Regions from separate parts of the Homo sapiens genome. Here region 2 is linked to region 1. The links are contacts of gene promoters, found by promoter capture Hi-C in human tissues and cell types (Jung and others, 2019). All regions are on one chromosome and are shown on one strand. Each heading gives the region's core, a stretch centred on a gene start or on the middle of the fragment in contact. The rest is flanking DNA. Distances are from core to core; before and after follow the strand shown.

The links. The method cuts DNA at HindIII sites, captures the fragments that hold promoters and counts their contacts. A contact is called where the count stands out against the background at its distance.
Region 2: a contact is called between a fragment that was not itself captured here and the fragment with the promoter of ZNF382 in region 1, in 1 of the 25 tissues and cell types used here (hippocampus).

Annotation. Positions count from the first base shown.
Region 1 is chr19:36,603,367-36,608,558 of GRCh38, forward strand. It overlaps ZNF382 (zinc finger protein 382), which reads left to right and starts at 1,947. Exons shown (of 5, transcript NM_032825.5): 1 at 1,947-1,981; 2 at 4,186-4,256. It also overlaps a transcript of ZNF529 not described here. RefSeq lists enhancers at 1,219-1,358, 2,339-2,398 and a silencer at 1,919-1,978. The HindIII fragment of the contact is 9,037 bases long and covers 1-5,192 here.
Region 2 is chr19:37,455,341-37,460,294 of GRCh38, forward strand. The region is part of intron 2 of ZNF569 (zinc finger protein 569); the gene reads right to left. Among named protein-coding and RNA genes, the nearest start is that of ZNF569, 9.6 kb to the right of the region's middle. The HindIII fragment of the contact is 6,345 bases long and covers 1-4,889 here.

The DNA of each region.
Region 1 (5,192 bases), core at 697-3,196:
GATCTGTCTTCATAATGTCATCAGTAACTGGGAAGAGAAGGACTAGAGACCAGGTAAATAGATAAGTCACTATTTGGTGAGCATTTCAAATGAAGTTATTCCACATCCTGAAAAACAAAAATGCATTTCATAAAACAAAGAAAAAAATCAAAATGACCTCCAGCTTTGCTTTAAAATGTGCAACTACAATGCTTTTCTTCTCTCAGAGCTCTTCTCTTGGAATACAGCAAAATGTGGAAAGAAAGGGAATCACAATATACTCAGCCTTTCTTGGAGCCCAGACAGGCTAAATAAGAACACATTCTTCACCACCGGCAAGCTTCCATAACCCATGCTGAATATGACCAGATGGAAGTATGAGAAAGACTGGAATATTGTTGACTCTTCCCTTCATAAAGAAAAGTCAGGTTCACCAAAGCCTGGGACTGAAATGTTTCTGTATTCACAATAATTTCCTTTAGACAGCTATGAAAATGCTGTGGATCTGCAATATTCAACTTGCCCCCACAGAGCTTCCAAAAGGGATCTTTTGGCTAGGCACGGTGGCTCACGCCTGTAATCCCAGCACTTTGGGAAGCCGAGGCGGGTGGATCACCTGAGGTCAGGAGTTCGAGACCAGTCTGACCAACATGGTGAAACCCCGTCTCTACTAAAAATACAAAAATGAGCCGGGCATGGTGGTGCATGCCTGTAATCCCAGCTACTCGGGAGGCTGAGGCAGGAGAATTGCTTGAACCCGGAAGGCGGAGGTTGCAATGAGCCGAGATTGCGCCACTGCACTCCAGCCTGGGCAACAAGAGCAAAACTCCATCTCACACACACACACAAAATCTTTGGAGAAACGAATCCTACTCCTGGGGCCTCAATATCATATCTTCCCAGAACCTTGCCTTGGGAGCAATTCCAGCTCTAACATCTCCATATCAAACACGAGGCTGTGCATATCAGAACACAGCCTTGTCCATGTGAAACACAAGGCTGTGCTTTTTCAGTTGGAAACTTCATTCTGGATCTCAAATATCCAACTTTCTTTTCGATAGCCATTTGACTGCACACTGTGCAACGTGGTTATAAGGTGAAATGACTGAGGCAGTGAAAGAAATCCCAGTATAACAAACTCCAAGAAACCACGTAACTTAAAATTGGCCCCAGAGGTTGGCGAGGCTGCATGCCACTGTGTATTATGCATTATGAAAGCGACAGGGGCCATGCTTTAGAACAGAAGGTCTCAGAGTCTTCACAGACACAGATCGAGCCATACGGGGACCTTGTCCACGTATTCCTGAGCCCCAGAACTGCAGAAATCAAACTCTACAAAAGCTGCACCAGGCCAGTTTTGATCACAGTCTCCAGTGGGTCACAACAGCGCTGTCACAGGATCACTGATAACAGCATGACACATTCATAGTCACCGCTCAGCGCCGTCACACAAACGGCCCCGCCCCCACTCAGTCCCGCGGGCCCAATCGGGGACAGTCAGGGCTGTCCCGGGCTGTGCACCTGCTGTGCACACACACCCCCTGCTGTGCACACCCCCCGCCCCCCCGGGACCATCACAGGCGCGCCCACTCACACCACCACACACGGACGCAGCCACAGAACGGCACACACAAACACAATCACACAGTCTCCCTCCCCAGCAGGTGACTTGCACACAGGCCTGGGGCTTCTGCCTCCACAAACCCTCTCCGCGTCCCATGAACCCAGGTCCCCTGCCGTGAGCTCTTCTCGCATCCAGACCCGGGTCACCTCAACTCACCACATGGAAAACGAACACCAGGTCAACGGAAAAGGGAGCCGGGGTCCTGGCAGAAGCGTAGTGCCAGCCGCAATAGGGCGGCCGTGGGTGCAAACGGAGGGGAGCGCCGGCAGCTAGCACCGCGCGGCGACTAACGGGCCGCCCCGGAGACTCCTGGGAGCTCAGGCCCACGCGCGAGTGCGCAGGCGCAGACGACTCACCCTGGGCCGGGGGTGAGGCTTGGTGGGTGCCAGGGGTGCTGAGGAGGCCAAGGAGGGCACTGGGAGCTCCGTTCCGGGAGAGCTGTCTAAGGACGCGGAACCGGGTGGGGAGGCCAGGGAGGTAACCAAGAGTCCGAGCCGGGCCTGGAAATTCTGAGGAGGAAACCGGGACCGCGGTATCCAGACGCTCCGATCTGTACGAGCCGGGCCTCGGGCGTGGTCCATGGGCGTGACCTTGAGGGTGACCCGGAGCGAGCTCCGCGAAGGGGGATTTTGCCCGTTCTGATCCCGCGGAAGCGCCATCGCTGGCGGCGGGTCCCCGCGCGGAGCGGGCGCTGTGTGTTCGCGCGCGCGGGCGCGCGCTGAATAGGGGTGGCCTCCTGCGCCCAACCTGCTGCATTTTAGGTGCTTGCCTCTCTTTGGGATGTTGTGGCCGATTGTGTGTGAAAAGTGAACGGAGTAGTGTTGCTGCGCGAGGTTTCCTCTGCGTGTGTCTATTTTTAGATTAGGTGTGAGTCGCATTTGAGACTGCCTTTGAGTGTGGAGAATTGCAAGTGATTTGTAGGTGTGGTTGTGACTGCCTGGAGTCGTGTTAGCTGCTGTCTGAGGTTGTGAATGACAAGTGGGGCCTGTAGGTTGGTGGTTCTCTGAAGGATGTTTGATTGACTGTGACTCTGCATGTGTTTGTAACCTACTGTTACTTCTGGTGGTTTTGTGGCCTTAGTGACCTAAATATTTGAATGATTGAGGAACTCTGTTATGACCATGGCTAGTTGGTTATGTAAGACTTGATTATCTGAATAGTAGCCATTAAGCCTGCCTCCAAAACTGTAACTAAGTAGCAATTTAGCAAATAAAATAGAGATAACAGTATCAGAGGGGAAGAGATGATTTTCATAATTCCCAGATTCATTTCCTGGAAACACCATATTAACTAAAACCAGTATGTTGAAATGAATAGCATTCCATTGGGGACATGCAGGAAATTTTTTTTTTTTTTTTTTTTTTACCATAACTACCACTTTTGTTGTTGTTTTTTGTTTGTTTTAAGACAAGGTCTTGCTCTTTTGCCCAGGCTGGAGTGTAGTGGCATGATCTCTGCTCACTGCCACCTCTACCTCTGAAGTTCAAGTGATTCTCCTGCCCCAGCTTCCTGAGTAGCTGGGACTACAGGCTTGTGCCACCACGCTCGGCTAGTTTTTGTATTTTTAGTAGAGATGGGGTTTCACCATGTTGCCCAGGCTGGTCTTGAACTCCTGACCTCAAGTGATCCCCTCCCCCCGCCCCCTCGGCCTGCCAAAGTACTGGGATTACAGGTGTGAGCCACTGTGCCTGGCATAACTACCACTTTCAACACTTGTATATGAGTGAGGTTTCCTACTCCCTTAGGCTTGCTAAGATAATAAAAAGTATTTGATAGATTTTTAATAAGTCCAGTCTCACTGTAGTAATTAAAATAGTTATTTTGCGGGCCTGGTGCAGTGACTGATGCCTGTAATCCCAGCATTTTGGGAGGCCAAGGTGGGCAGATCACCTGAGATCGAGAATTCGAGACCAGCCTGACCAACATGGAGAAACCCCATCTCTACTAAAAATACAAAATTAGCCGGGCATGGTGGTGCATGCCTGTAATCCCAGCTACTCAGGAGGCTGAGGCAGGAGAATCGCTTGAACCCGGGAGGTGGAGGTTGCGGTCAGTCAAGATTGTACCATTGCACTCCAGCCTGGGCAACAAGAGTGAAACTCTGTCTCAAAAAAAAAAAAAAAAAAGATTATTCTCAACTACAACATAGACCAGATAGGCAAAGATTTAAAAGTTGTCAACTGTCTTCATCAGGGCTTGGGAAGGTATTCTCATCCACTACTATCAGTGTAAATTGGCAAAAAGTCCAAGAAGAACCGTTTGGAAATACACAGTAAACCTGTGGTTAGAGGTAGATGGAAGGCAGAGCTGCAGAGGGAAAAACACAGTGTTCCCTCTCTTCAAGCTAAAACAGGTTCCCCAGAATCCTGTATACTTTACCAAGAGACTGGGTTTCTGGTGTTTGTGAGGGAGCCTGATTTGTCTGTTTTCCCACTAACTACCATCCTGGACATCTGAAGGGTACACAGGGTGGACAAGTGCTGAAATAGTGAACATTCATGCAGATTTAACTGAGTTAATTCTGGGAGTTCTGAGTCAAGTATGGTCTCACATACGTATATCCTCCATCTTTGCTTTCTCAGGACTGTTTCTTTTTCCAAAAGAGGAGCTCAAAAGAGAAAGTTCATCTAGAAATCTCAAAGCCATGTCTCAGGTGAGATGATGTTTCCTCTCTTTCTGAAATAACTTTTTTTCATGGTGTATGAACATGAGCTTCACTGTCCTTTAACCTTCCCTGATATTGGGATTTGCTTCCATGAAATTAGTCTTCAGTCAGGGCCAGATTAGGCTGAGGCAGGCAAGTGGCATGAGGTGAAATATTTAAGGGGTACCCTCAGGGCTGTGCCCTCCTAAATTTTGCATTCTAGGTGCCTCACCTGCCTCACCCTGTATCCAGCCCTGTTCACAATTTCTCCATTCCAACCAAATCAACTTAAGCCTTCCCCAAGTGTACCTTCTGGTTGTACATATTCATTGGGTATATCATTCATCATCTCCTTTCTCAGTCTTCTCACAAACAAACTGCTGGAATAGAAAGGTATTGTCTTGATTTAAATGGGAATATATGGCTTGAATGAATTTAACTTGTCCTGATGCTGATTTGAGACCTAAGCTGTGAGTAGTCATGGAGCAGACGTGGAAAAACCTTGATGATCTCCGCTAGCCTAGGTTTTGCAATGGTACGTTGGGAAATAGAAGTGGTAGATCCCAGCATTAGTTTCTGGAAAGATGTCCTGCTTTGTGAGGTGTTTAGGATAGCAATTTGATTGCAGGCTTGTAAAGGAAACACGTTTTATGTTCCTCCTCTCTGATCTTTTTTCATTCATGTCTGCTAGCCATTCCTACAAATTGTGGGCTGCCAGTGAAAACCTTTCCAGTATTCCAATGCTGTTAGAGATTTGTTATTTTCTTTTTAGTTTCTTCTAATTTTTTATTTGCGGGTGCAGGAGAAGGAAATCCATATGCCAGGCCACTTTTGAAATATTCTATTGTTGATCAAACAGTACTTTGTCCTCTTTTCATATCTTTCAGAAAATTCCTCTTTAGCTCATCCACCAACCTTTAAAATACTGGTTTTCCTCAGATGCTA
Region 2 (4,954 bases), core at 467-2,966, 850 kb after region 1:
TCACAAACTAAATGTTATATTCATAACAAATGTTATTTTTCTTTCCACTGCAAAGAACTTACTTCCAGCCATATCAATTTGTTTAGTTTCTGGACTATCATGCATGATTCCCTCCTGAAATGAGCTCTGATACAGTTAAAATGCTTACAGCAACTGCCATATCTACATAATAATATATATTTTTTAACACTCCACTTGCTTGAATCCACGTTTTGCCAAAAACCTAAAACTCATTGAAAGCTCTACACCTGGCAGCATCTCTCAAGGCAGAAATTCTCTAGTTAGCGTGAACTAACTCACAGACTGGGGATATGGCTCTGTGGTGGACAACAGTATTTTCTCCCCCACCCCCAACTCTTTCCTAGTCTTCTCTCCACTATTTCCATGTGTCCCCGGATTCCAGGTCCTACCACACCACTTTGCAACACATGTTTAAATCACAAGGGAAAAGGGCCAATGACACATGAAAGAAGGATATAAGGGCTGGACCCACTTATATAAGGGCACCCACTGATGGCTGGAAGAACAGCATTAAACTCTGTGGGTACCGCTCTATCTGGGATCTAAAGTTGCCAAAGCCAGTTGCAACTACAGGAATCAAAAATTTAATTTCTCAAAAGCTTCTTTACTTTGTTTTCTCTTTAATTTGGTTGGCATGTTTGAAAACATTTTTATTCTACTCTCATACTCAAATAATAATTTGGCTAACTGTAGGCTTCTCAGAAAAACAGTTTTTCCTTAGAAATTTAAAGCAATGTGACTTCACTTTGTGGCTCCAGTGACTTCTAGTGTTGCTGTACATTGACATTCTACTTCTAGATCATTCCAACTTTTTTTTTCCTCTGTAGAAAGTTTTTGGCCTTTCTTCTCTCTTATTGGTTTCCGATAGTTGGTGTGGGTTTTTCTCATTAATCGCACTGAGCTTTTGGTCAGTATATATCACGGACATACGGTCATTTCAATCCGTATATTTATTGTTCTCTTCTAGGAAATTTTCTTGCACGTTTTTGTTTTCATTTTCTCTACTTTCTCTTACGTATAATTCCTAAGAATAGGATGATCTATCCCTTAAACTGATCATCTAAGTGTCTTATATTTTATCTCTTAACATTTCTACTTCTCTCTTAGGGCCCGTATGTTTGAGAAGGAAGCTCCCACTTATGTTAGTTAAACATTAAGTCACAGAGCTCTCCATTAAGAAAACTTTTTCTTTAGACAGGGAGTTGAAGCTTCATAAAACAGTTTAACTGCCTCCTACTTTCCTTCCCTCTAGTTCACTCTAAACATACTTGTATGTATACATTCTAGAAATTTTCTTCCAAAATTTATTACTTTTAAAAACTCGAGGCCAGGCACAGTGGCTCACACCTGTAATCCCAGCACTTTGGGAGGCTGAGGTGGGCGGATCACAAGGTCAGGAGTTCGAGATTGGCCTCGCCAACATAGTGAAACCTCACCTCTCCTAAAAATACAAAAAATTAGCTGGGCATGGTGGCAGGCGCCTGTAATCCTAGCTACTCAGGAGGCTGAGGCAGGAGAATCGCTTGAACCCAGGAGGCGGAGGTTGCAGTGAGTCTAGATCGCGCCATTGCACTCCAGCCTGGGCAACAGAGGGAGACACCGTCTCAAAAAAAAAAAAACAAAAAACAAAAAACACAAAACTCAAACTACAAAAATGTTGGAAGATCAGTACAAAGAATACTTCTAAAACCCTTAATCTATATTCAGCATTGCCACATTTTTCTACCTCTCTTTCCTTCTCTAAAAACATATACACAAACTTCACGTTAACTCTTTCAGAATGTACCTCCAAAAACTAAGAAGCCTCCTACATAAACACAATGCCATTATCACACCAAAGATATTAAACATTCGTACAATAAAATATATTATCTCTATACTTCCCTAGTTGTCGCAACAATATCCTTTAAAACCAATTTTAAAATAAATTGAGGATTTAATCGAGAATTCTATACTTATAAAATGCATCTTAAGTAACACTCCCCTGTTTAAACTTCTTTTTTTCCCCTTGCCCAAAATTTACTGGCTTATGGTAACAGAGAAACTGAGGTATGTGGAAATATGAAAGAAAAAGAGAGTGATGGAATGTGGAATTGGTATATAATGTTTAAGAATAAACAAAATAACCATGGAATACTATGCAACCATAAAAAGGATAAGTTCATGTCCTTTGTAGGGACATGGATGAAGCTGGAAACCATCATTCTGAGCAAACTATCGCAAGGACAGAAAACCAAACACCACATGTTCTCACTCATGGATGGGAACTGAACAATGAGAACACTTGGACACAGGATGGGGAACATCACACACTGGGGCCTGTCATGGGGTTGGGGGAGGGGGGAGGGATAGCATTAGGAGATATACCTAATGTGAATGACGAGTTAATGGGTGCAGCACACGAACATGGGACATGTATACATATGTAACAAACCTGCATGTTGTGCACATGTACCCTAGAACTTAAAGTATTAAAAAAAAGAATAAACAAAATAAAACTGGAAAATCTTAGATATTTTTATATTCTTTTTTTTTGGAGACAGAGTCTCGCTCTGTTGCCCAAGCTGGAGGAGCGCATGGCTCGCTGCAGGCTTCATCTCCGAGATTCAAGTGATTCTCCCATCTCAGCCTCCCAAGTAGCTGGGACCACAGGCATGCACAACCATGCCTGGTTAATTTTGATATTTTTGGTAAAGATGGGGTTTTGCCATGTTGCCCAGGCTGGTCTTGAACACTTGGGCTCAAGTGATCTGCCCACCTTGGCCTCCCAAAGTGCTAGGATTATAGGCCTGAGCCACCATGCCCAGCCTGATATTTTTATATTCTTTATGGAGTCCTTTTTAAAAAGTGTATTTTATTTTAGATTCAAGGGGTACATGTGCTTGTTTGTTACATGAGTATTACCTTAAATTACTTCAATGACAACTTTTATAATTTTGTTTCTGAATACCTCATTAGCTTCATCTTTCACTCCTTGAAAGTAAACTCCAGCCATACATAATTACATACCTTTCTTAAAATATACAAAGCATTGCTCCTTAACAGTTACTGTATATTACGTTTCCATGCCTAAAAACTATCTCTTGATTGCTGATCATCAGTTCCTTCTTGCCTTTGACCAATACCTTCTTGTTCTTAAAGAGATCAGATTAAGAACAACTTTATCATTTGATTGGGATATCCGTCTATGTAGATCTATTTGTACTTCTGTATCTCATGAGCTTAACCATCTTGTGGCATTTATCACTCTGCCAGTGCACCCACTGATTTATCTAAGTAGGACTGTGAACCACTTATGGCAGGGACTGGTCATATGGTTTGATGTTTCATGGCCCAGCACAACCTATATAAGAAAAGATGTGCAGTAATTTTGTGCAATGAATTTAAAATAACTATGATTAATATTTTGAGTGCTCTATGAGAAAGTTAGAAAAAGAGATGGGTACTGTAAGCAGGGAAATGCGAACTATAAGAAAGAATCAAAAGAAATGCTAGAAATCAAAAACATATTAATAAAAACAAAGAATGCCTTCAATGGACTCATCAACAAACTCAACACAGTAGAGGAAACAATCAGTGAACCTGAAAATAGAAACTTCAAAAGAAACTTCCCAAACTAAAATGCACAGAGGAAAAAGAATGAAAAACAAAAGAGAACATCCAAACCATGGGAGAACATCCAAACCATGGGACAATATCAAAACATGTATCTATTAAACAGACATCTATTTTCCCAATTAGAAAACCAAAAGGAGAAAAAAGAGAACACAGATGAAATATTGTAAGTAATAATGTCCATGAATGTTTCAAATTAGTGACACACACCAAACCATAGGCTGAGGAAGCGCAAAGAACACTAAGCAAGATAAATACCAAAAAAAACCACACGTGTATATCATATTGAAACTGAAAAAACAACAACAAAAAAAAACAAAGAAAAGATAGTCAAGGAACCCAGAGAAAAGTAACACCTTACCTATAAAACAACACTGATAAAAATTACAGCAGACTTCTTGTCAGAAACTATATAAACAAGAAGAAAGTGGTGTGAAATATCTAAAGCATTAAATGAAAAAGAGCCACCAACCTAGAATTCTCTCTATCCAGGGAAATTATCCTTCAAAGTTGAAGGAGAAATGAAGACTTTCATTTCTAACAAAAACTAAGGGAATTCATCACCAGCAGACCTACCCTGTAAGAAATGTTAAAAAGTTATTTAGGCAGAAGAAAAACAATATAGGTCAGAAACATGGATTTACATAAAGAAAGGAAGAGCACCAGAGACAAAATCATGAAGGTAAGATAAAATCTTTTGGTTCTTTTATTAGTAATTGATCTAAAAGATAAATGTTTGTTAAAGGCTATAATGATAACAATGTATTAGGTGATTACAGCACACGGATAAGTGAAATGAATGACAGGGACATCACAAGTGACATAACAACGGAGAAGAAGGGGGAACTGGGAATACTGTTGTAAAGTTCCTGCACTACATATGAAGCAGTATAGCATTTTCAAAAGTGAATTTAGATTACTTAAAAATACACATTGAAAACTCTAGGGTGACACTAAAATTTTTTAAAAGAAGTATAAATGATAAAGTAAACAGGAGATAAAATGAAATAATATAAAATGCTCAATGAAAACCGTAGTAATCAGACAAAGGAGGGGAGAAGAGAAGAAACAAAACAAAGAAATAAAAAAATTTTCTATTTGCATACGAAGCAAATGGAAAACAGCTAGGAAGATGGTAGTGAGCTAGGAAGATGGTAGTGTTTTTTTGTTTGTTTGTTTGTTTTTGAGACAGAGTTTCACTGGAGACTCCAGCCCAGGCTGGAGTGCAGTGGAACGATCTTGGCTGACTGCAATCTCTGTCTCCTGGGTTCAAGCAATTCTCCTGCCTCAGCCTCAACTGGGATTACAGGCATGCACC